Linked DNA regions of Homo sapiens: region 1 is linked to region 2. The links are contacts of gene promoters, found by promoter capture Hi-C in blood cells and fetal thymus (Javierre and others, 2016). All regions are on one chromosome and are shown on one strand. The core of a region is centred on a gene start or on the middle of the fragment in contact, and the rest is flanking DNA. Distances in the headings are between cores, read along the strand shown.

Region 1 (4,639 bases), core at 436-2,935, 360 kb after region 2:
GAATCACTTTCTCCCTTGTGTGATGCTTGTTACTATTCATCTGTTTCTTTCTTCCTAGATTGTCAGCCCCTTGAGGGAAGAATCCATGAAAAACTCTATCTTTGACCTCCATGTTCTCTGGTGCTCCCTGAGTTCTGTAGGCAGTAGCATCAAAATTGTGGCCCCTTGCTGAGTACGGTGGTTGTAAGGGGTAAATGAGAGAATCTTCCCCACATACGTGGCAGTATGCCTGGCAAATAAAGATTAGCTCACACGTATTATTTTAGTGATGAGGATAGTTAGGGTGACCAACTGTCTTGGTTTGCCTGGGACTGAGGGGGTTCCCAGGATGGACAGTCCTGGGTAAACTGGCACAAGTCGGTCGCCTTAGGGATGGGTGGTCATTGAGTGCCTGTGACTTGTCAGGCATGGTTGGTGCTGGGTAAATTAGATGGATTATTTCATTTAAACCTCACAACAGCCCTGTGAGCTATTTGTGATTATCTGCATTTTACAGAGTAATACATTAAAACTTTAAGTCATATCTTCCCAGCTGCTAGCTCCTTCTCCATCAAATACTGATTTTTTCAAACAAGAAAATGACTTCATTGCTGTTTTATTCCACTGCGGTAAATTGAATGCCCTTGTCTCCCAATTCTTAACCCTCCCTGCATACACACACTTGCCATATGACTTGGGCTTGGCCATGTGACTTGGCAAATGGCATGTGGACAGAAGTGACAGACCCAAGCCCAGGCCTTTTTTGCATGTTTCTGCTTATACTTTTTTTTTTTTTTTGAGACAGAGTCTCGCTCCATTGCCCAGGCTGAAGTGCAGTGGCATGATCTCGGCTCACTGCAACCTCTGCCGCCCAGGTTCAAGTGATTCTCCTGCCTCAGCCTCCCAAGTAGCTGGGATTACAGGGGTGCACCACCACACCTGGCTAGTTTTTGTATTTTTAGTAGAGACGGGGTTTCACCGTGTTGGCCGGGCCAGTCTTGAACTCCTAACCTCCAGTGATCTGCCCACCACAGCCTCCCAAAGTGCTGGGATTTCAGGCGAGCCACGGTGCCCAGCCTTGCTTACACTCTTAAGCCTCTACCAGATCCATGAAAGGACTGTGCCCCAGCCAACCTGCTGGTCCAAGAAGACTGAGAGACACGTGGAGCAGAGCTGTCTGCTGAGTCACAGACCTGCAGCAAGAAGAAGGGGCACCCAGCAAAGCTCAGCCCAGATTAAGCCCCAGCTGACCAGTAGATGGGGAAGGGATAATACATCATTGTTTTTAAGCTCCTGAGTTTTTAGGAGGTTTGTTACACAGCAGTAGCTAACTGATACATTCACCAACTTGACATAGGCTTTGGGGTGGGTAGATTTTACTGCTAAAGTCCTTTGATGAACTAAGCTTGTATATTATATCTGGCCAAGTATTCCTAATTGCTGGGTTCCTAATTTACGGGATGGTTGCTATTCCTTGCAGCGGGCATTTCTAAAGGTTAAAAGAAGGGGAGAGAAAGGAAAATGTTCACTGTGTGACCAGTGCAATGTTTGCTGGTTTCACATGTTCTCTTTGCTTGTTTATGTTGTGTGGCATCTATTGACCCTGAAGCCACCCCAGGCCTCTCTCTTCCTGGGAACAAGGACCTCAGACCTACAAGGCAGATCTAGGGCAGATGGTCTTACCAGAAGGGACCTTCATTGGTAGCTTTCCACAGGCATCATTTTCTGTACATACTCTAGGGCACAGAGGAGAGGGCCAATGATGAGCAACCTGGGATCCTGGCCACACTCTGCCATGAACTTGCTGCAAGACCTGGGGCAAACCCCTTCCTCTCTGAGCCTTTGCCTCCCCCCATTTGCTAGTCTTTGGGAGTGGACGTGAGAGCTCTTTCAGGTGGCACAGACAGAAGCAATGTGCAAGGTGGATTTTGCACGACGGTTTTGGGGTCAGACCCGGGTTTATACCCTGCTGCCTGCCTTGTGAGCTGTGTGACCTTGGGAAGCTTCTTCACCTCCCTGACCTCAGTTCCCCGTCTCTGTGAGACAGTCATCGTGAAACCCAGATGCAAGAAAGTCCATAATGGGCCTGGCACAAGGGAAGCCTTCAGCATGTGTGTTTGTTATTACTAATATGGCACAACTAGTTAGTCTCCTGAAATCAGTCATCTCAAAATAGCAATCACTTACTTTCAACAGAGTAAATATTTCTCATCTGCATCATTTCAAGCCTTCCCTCTTTAATTTTACAGTTGCATTTACAAAGGAGTTATTTACAGTGCAAAGGGACAAGATGGGCTGCCTCCTTGAAATGGTTTCACAAATTTCCTCTCTTCCTGTTAAGATATTAGCGCCCAGTAATTGTCGCTCTATATAAATGTGGAGCGTCGGCTGCGAATGTGCACCCTGTAGTAATTGTGAGTTGTCTTGACGCTAATTACATAGGGGAGCCTGTTTAATTGCCAGTTAAATTGACTGTGTGTGTTTTCTCTAATCTGTGTTTCCGGGCAAGTTGGATGGCATCCGCTCCTCGTTGGACTAAGCATGAATTTGGAAGACCTCAAGAGGCTCTGCTGCAGGAGAAAGTGAGGCTGGAGGAGGGGAGGTGGGGTATGACAGCCGATGATGACACGATTGTGTCCATACACAACGAGTGGCCATTGCGAGATCCAACCCGGGGTCTCCTGGAGGTTGAGGAAAGTAAGACTTCTCTTCTGCCCATGTTCAGAGCTGACTTGGATGAGACTTGAGGGCTGCACAGGGCAGGAATGATAGCTTGGGCCTGTCATCAGGACTGAGTCCCAGCCGATGGCACCCAGCCCTGCCACAGCATCCCTAAACTGTCTACTCCCCGCTCCAGACCTTTGCTCATGCTGGTCCTTCTATCTGGTCCCAGTTCCCCCCACCCTCATAACTCTATGTTATGTCACTGTAGCTGTGTCATTCAACGCCCAGCTACAAAACCACATTTTCCATGCAGCCTTTCTGGATGTCGCCTCTGGAAGAAGGGGTCCTCTCTGGTCCAAGCCCATAGCTCTTTTTGTGTTATCCTGAGGCCTTACTCATTCCCTGCTTGTATTTGAACTGATTGAGCACCAGACTGTGAGTCTCTGAAGACAGGTCATGCCTCATACAGAGTGAGTGCTTAGTAACAGGAGGTAGGAGTCAGAAGACAGGAGGGGAGAGAGAAGAAGAAGGAGGAGGGGAAGAGAGAGGAGGAGAAGAGAGAGGAGAGGAGGGAAAGAAGGGAAAGGGAGAGGGGTTGGAGGAAGGAGAGGAGGCAGAGGCAAAGGAAGGAAGAGAGGAAGGAAAAATGGAGGGCTAACAATACCAACTAACACTTCTTGAGTATTGGGGTGTGTATGCGTGTGTGCACATGCACACGCCAAGCACACGCCAAGTATGTCATCCTCGTCAATTTGTTTAATCTGCCTCACAATCTTGAGGCAGATCATCCCCATTTCACTGATGAAGAAACTGAGGACACTGAGAGACCAAGGAACTTGTTAACGCAGCCTTAAGTGGCAGATCCAGGAGTCCAAGTTTTCAACCATCGGACTAAGCTGTCTCAAAGGAAGGAAGGGAGGGTGGGAGGAGGTAGTGAGGGAGGGAGGGAAGGAGGAGGAGAGCTGAATTCCATGGCATGAGTTCTCCTGATGTTTAAAAACCTCTCCAGCCTTCCACACACGCTTTCTCCTTAGCTCAAAAGCTAAATTAGAGCGGATTGCTCTCTCCTCACTTTAGTAATTTAGATAAAAGTAAAATTTTGTCTGAGAGCAGAAGCAATTATAGCACGGGTTTTGTGATTAACTTGATTAACACTGTTTCACTCTAAAAGTGATCCCCCCCCTTTGGCTGGCGACTGTAATCAGAGCCACGTCTTTCAACTATGCTACAGCTGCTCTCTCTCCCCCCACTCCCCAAAAAAGATTTTGACATAAATACTTATTAGGGAGGACTCTAGTCTCTGGCTGGAACAGTTGAGCAAAGAGGAGGAAAATGTCTCTCTCTACATTAGCATCTGTAGCCGATTAAAAGGCTGTCGCTTGCTACCCCAGTTACTGACAAAGATCCCAATTATGCAGCAATGAAATATACATACACGATACAGGAGGGTTTATACATTTTTAATTTTTTTCAAAGAGAAAACGTTCAGAGGAAACTCTAATTAGAGATTGCGTTTCTTTAAGAGGAAAATGATATGTGGTTTCAAGAGAGATTATTTGGGGTTATCGCTGGGCAATTGAGAATCTTTTCCAAACCCAGGTTTCTGCTCCTGAGCAAGGGCCCAGAGCCCACTGGCACTTGTAGGAATGCTGTGGTTTTCTGTCCTGTGAAGCTTTGAAATTTGAATCCCTGGGGAAGGAGGGAGTTGGGGTCCTAGCCAGCACCCCATTGTCTCCTCTCCTGGGACACTCCCCGGGATTCTGGTGTTTCTGTTCTCCTCTCTTCCCTCTGTCCTTGCCCAGGCCTACCTGGCCATCGAGACGGCAGCTGCTACTTCTGTCATCCCCTCTCGTAGCTAGGCACTCTACAGAATCCTCTTGTTTAACCAAACCTACTAGCCTAGAGGTAGGAATTACTGCTCCCCTGTTGGGGCAGATAAAGAAATGAGTGCCGAGGAGTCAGGTCACCTGCCCAAGGTCACACAGCTGCTCAGTGA
Region 2 (4,467 bases), core at 1,190-3,689:
AACATGAAGGGAATAATACAAATACCAGCTGCCGTTTACTGAGCACTTATTACATGCCAGGCCCTGTTCTAAGCCCTTTACAAGCATGGTCCTGTTCATCTTCACAAAACCCAGCCAGCTAGGAATAAGGTGCCGGTTTTGTGGAAGAGAAAAACAAGCAGCAGAGTGGCTCACCCAAGCTGGCACAGCAGAGTTAGGATTCAAACTCGAGCCTGCCTGATGGCAAGCCTCATGGCCCTCCTGTGGTGCCGCCTGCCTCCCACCAACATGATTCTGTGAGTGTCTCACTGCTGTCCCCTACCACCAGTGGATATGTTACTCTGCGTAGCCAAGCCAGGCATGTGGGTATCAAGAGGGTCCCTGGACAGAGATGGAGGAGAGAAAATGCCAACAAAGAACAGGGGAGTGTGCTCAGAAAGGGACAGAGACCACCAGGAGGCTGCTGGCTGCTGAGGGTCCGCAGCGCTGGTGGAGGCACAGGAGAGGGAGAATGTTCTGAGTACAGGGAGGAAACAGAAGGAGGCAGAGGCCAGGGATGTGTCCATAGACATGACATGGAGTTTGGTCCGGCCAGAAGGGTCCAGGAGCAGAGGCATGCTGGAGAGCAGAGGCATGCTGGAGAGCAGAGGTATGCTGGCGCCAGAGCGCACATGATGCAGGACAACGTGATGTCAAGGGAGGCAGGGAGGCAGGAGAAGGCAGAGACTGGGCCTCCGAGCAGTGTTGACTGCCCACTTGCCCACAGCTGGAGCCCCACCATGGGGTGCTCGCCTGGCACCACTTTTCTGCCCAACTGCTGGCATCTACCCTGGCGCAGGGTCTTCTGGAGAAAATGAGTCAGCAGTGTGCTCACTGGTGCCGCGCGCGCGTATGTGTGTGTGTGTGTGTGTGTGTGTGTGTTGTGGTGAGGGGGTGCGGGGCGGGGGAATCGCAAACAGCCAGCTTTTTCCAAGACATGGGGAAGAAAGGAGGGGGTGTCATCCCGCGGACTCCAGCTCAAAGGGGGCAGGGCCCAGCTACAGCCCTAACAGCCTCTGGGGAGTGTCCTGGTGTCCTGGGGGCAGGATGGAAAGAGAGGAGCGCCGTCCACAGGCCCCAACGGGCTGCTTGCATGCTGCTGGCTCCCACACACACCCACACGCTGCGCCGGCTCCAGCACAGGCTCACTCTCTCTTACAACTCCTACTCCACACGCTGGGAATCCCAGCCTCTGGGCCCCAGCTCCGCGCAGCCGCTCCTGGGAGAGTCCCTGCCCCTCTCCGGCCCTGTCTCCCGATCTGTACACTGAGGGGTTCCGCACAGTGATCGCCCAGGGCCCTTTCTGCTCTGACATGCTGGCTCTCACTTTTTCTCTCTTACACACGTGAAAGGGACAGGAACCGAGAAGCAGGAAACACAGACACACAGACCCAGGCCGACTAACACAAACACGCGGAGATTTCCAGAAACGCGGGGACGTGCAGAGCCACACAGACACGGAGACAGGAGCAGAACCCGAGACCTGGTGACCTAGAAACTTGCGGACAATTTCACAAGAACAGATAGAAACGGAGACGTACAGGCTTGGGACCTGCAGACACTGAGACACCGGAACACACCGAGACGGCCCCAAACGGAGACCCCCCTCCTCCCCCAAGCATCCAAAAAGCCCCCCTCCGCACCCCGCCGGCCGCTCCAGGCGCCACCACCCACCCCCACCCCCGACCCCCGGGCTGGCTCTGCCCCCGCCCCAACGGGATCGGGCAGCCGGGCCAGGCGCGGCAGGGCGGGCAGCGTTCGCCAACTCTCGCCCGGCCGGGGGCGCAGCCCCTATTAACCCTTGGCGTCCCGCCTCGCGGGGGCGCAGGAAGGGGCAGGAAGCTGACGTTCCGCTGGAAGCGACCGCATGGCGGGGAACCCCGGCCCTCCCCGAGATTGGAGCAGCAGGAAGCTAGGGAGGGGGCGTCCCCGAGTTCGTACTCACCCCCCGCGCGCCGCCGCCGCCGCCGCTGTGCCTCGGGCCCCCCGCGCCGATCCCGCTCCCATGGCAGGCCCCTACTTCATGCTCCCGAGCCCGGGGGGCAAGTGTGGGCGCGCCCCATGGGGCCGCCAGCCCCCCGCCCCGCCGCGCCAGGCCGGCTTAGAGCGCGCGGCCCCCGCGCCCCCAGCGCAGCCCCGCGCCCAGGGGCGCCCGAGCAGGCAGGCAGCGCGGCTGGGGCCCCGCGGGCGCCCGCGCCAGGCCCATGGTCCCAGGAGTCCGGGCGCCGCGCTCGCCCCTGCCTCGGTCCTTTTCTGCTTCCACCAAAAAGGAAGAAGAAGCAAGAAAAAGAGAGAGAGAGATGATCAAACTTTTGGAGGCGGGCTGCTGGCGGTCCCCGGAGGCAGAGCAAGGCCGGGTGAGGGCGCGCGGAGGGCGGTGGAAGCTGCCTCCCCGCCGGCCTGGGGGAGGAGAGGAAAAGGAAGGATTTGGGGGAAATGAAGGCGATTTAAAGTCTCGGCCCGCGGTGGCTCTCCACCTTCCCTCCTCCCCGCTCCCGGCCGCCCTCTGCTGCCCCCTGCTGCCCCCTGCCGGCCGGAGCCAAGGGTACAGCCTCAGCTGGCCCACTACAGCCCCGATGGGACACCCGCCCCCCTCCTCCTTGTATAGATGGGGAAACAGATTCACAGAGAGGAAGGGGCTGCCCAGGGCTTCACGGTGATTTGATCACCGTTCTGAGATTAGGAACTTCTGACTGGTGAGGCTGGGGGTCCTCCAATGGGGGGTTGGGGTAGGGGAGAAGGGCCAAATTCTACTCCTGGAAGAAACCCACAGTTTCAGGGACGGAGCTAGGACCAGAACTTGGTGTCCAGACGCCCACGACAACCAGTATCGTGATCCCCACCGCCCACCAAAAGTTTGCGCTCCCAGACTCGGAGCGCCCTGGAGAACATATAGGGTGGGCTTGTTAAGGGTTTGCCACCCTCTCTCTCCCTTCTGTCAGCAATTGGAATCTAACCGCACCCCACCACCACCACTAACCACGCACCTCCCCAGAATCGACAAAAACTCCCTCGGATCCCATCCGGGAGCTAAGAGCTGCACACCTTGGCCCCCGGGCAAATTCTCACACCCAAAACTCCAGTCCAGCCCTGGGACCACAGCTCCCTCCGCCTCTACCACCTCTTGCCACTCGTTCACGAGCAAAGTTACACTTATTCACCGGTGCACACACACACTCCCACACGTATCCACCCTTTCCCCAAACTCAGACACACGCTCACACACGGTCCCATTCTGGGACAGCCACGCACCCTTCCTAGGTTCACACGAAACGCATCCTCAGATATCTGGGCTCAGGCGCACGCTGATACTCTACACTCGCAGAAGCATGCACACGGATGCTTACACAGGCACAAATGCACGCTATCCTGGCCATATCGCCCCCACACATGTACACACCCCGGGTGGACACACGCGCGCACACCCTCACTTGCACACAGTTCTCCGAGAGTGCCCACCGCACATGTGCACACACGCATTCACTCCTCACGCGTGTACCCACCTCCCCATACGCGCACACCTTTAGGCGCGCGCACACACAGGCATATAACACTTCGCACCGCTCCAGGAGCCCCCAAGCACTTACTGGGTCCCTACGTGCGAGGCTGGCCGGTCGGTCCTTCCTCCGGCGCCTAACGGCATTTGTATTCATGGGTCCCCGCAGCCGTGGGCGCGGGGGCGGGGGGCGAGGTCCCCTTCCCTAAACGGGGCGCGGGCGCGCGGAGCGCAGCGGCACCGGGAGGGGCATGGGCGCGCGGGACTGCGCCGCCGACCCGGTCCGCCTGCGCTCGAACTTCGGCAGCTCTGCGTCCACGGGCTCCGGCGCGGGCTCCGAGAGCTGGGGGCGGCTCATAGGTGCTGGGGCGGCGGCGCCCGCCGGGCCTTTTGAAGTCTCCGCTGGGGGCGGGGAGGGGGCGCTGAAGGCGGCCTTTTAAACCCTGGCTGCACGCGGGCTCGGTCGAGCAAGGTGTCTGGTTTCAACAAACTTTAGGAAAAGTCCCAAGCCGAGAGAGGGGAGGTAGGGGGGTTGGGGGAGCTGCATAGCTGTGCGCTGCTTCCTGCAGAGGGCAGAGCACCCATGGCTGCCAGGAGGGAGGCCAGTCGCGGGACTGGGGAACTGGCAGGCTGCTGGCCGGCGCGTGGAACCACCCCCGCCACCCCCGCACCCCCAATGTTGAACCAGAGTTCTTAACTTCCATGTGCACGAACCCCAGGGAGTGCAGGAACACCCCCAAACTGTGCACAAATTGAGCATGTTTGTGCATTCTTCAGGGGAGAGGGGCCGTGGGCTTTCCTCCGGTTTTCAGAAGTCCACGGCCCCCTAAGGTTGAGAACTCCCTCTTCAATCATAACTGATGTTTTTTTAGTTGCATACTTGGTACCATGCAGACCCTGTCTTTATTTACATTTTAGATATTTTGTTCATTGTGGGGTTTTGCATTAATTTT

Evidence for each region. Contacts are between HindIII fragments. The CHiCAGO score rates a contact against its expected background, and 5 or more counts as called.
Region 1: a contact is called between a fragment that was not itself captured here and the fragment with the promoter of COL27A1 in region 2, in 1 of 17 cell types (M1 macrophages). The highest score is 5.4, in M1 macrophages.

What each region holds. Positions count from the first base shown.
Region 1 is chr9:113,788,081-113,792,719 of GRCh38, reverse strand. No RefSeq gene overlaps it. Among named protein-coding and RNA genes, the nearest start is that of ZNF618, 86 kb to the left of the region's middle. RefSeq lists a silencer at 342-552. The HindIII fragment of the contact is 598 bases long and covers 1,387-1,984 here.
Region 2 is chr9:114,153,509-114,157,975 of GRCh38, reverse strand. COL27A1 (collagen type XXVII alpha 1 chain) reads right to left here and starts at 2,439. Exons shown (of 61, transcript NM_032888.4): 1 at 1,964-2,439. The coding sequence starts at 2,025. It overlaps LOC105376225 (a long non-coding RNA gene), which reads left to right and starts at 3,708. Exons shown (of 5, transcript XR_930256.3): 1 at 3,708-4,467. RefSeq lists silencers at 1,273-1,567, 2,455-2,574 and an enhancer at 4,111-4,467. The HindIII fragment of the contact is 6,106 bases long and covers 1-4,467 here.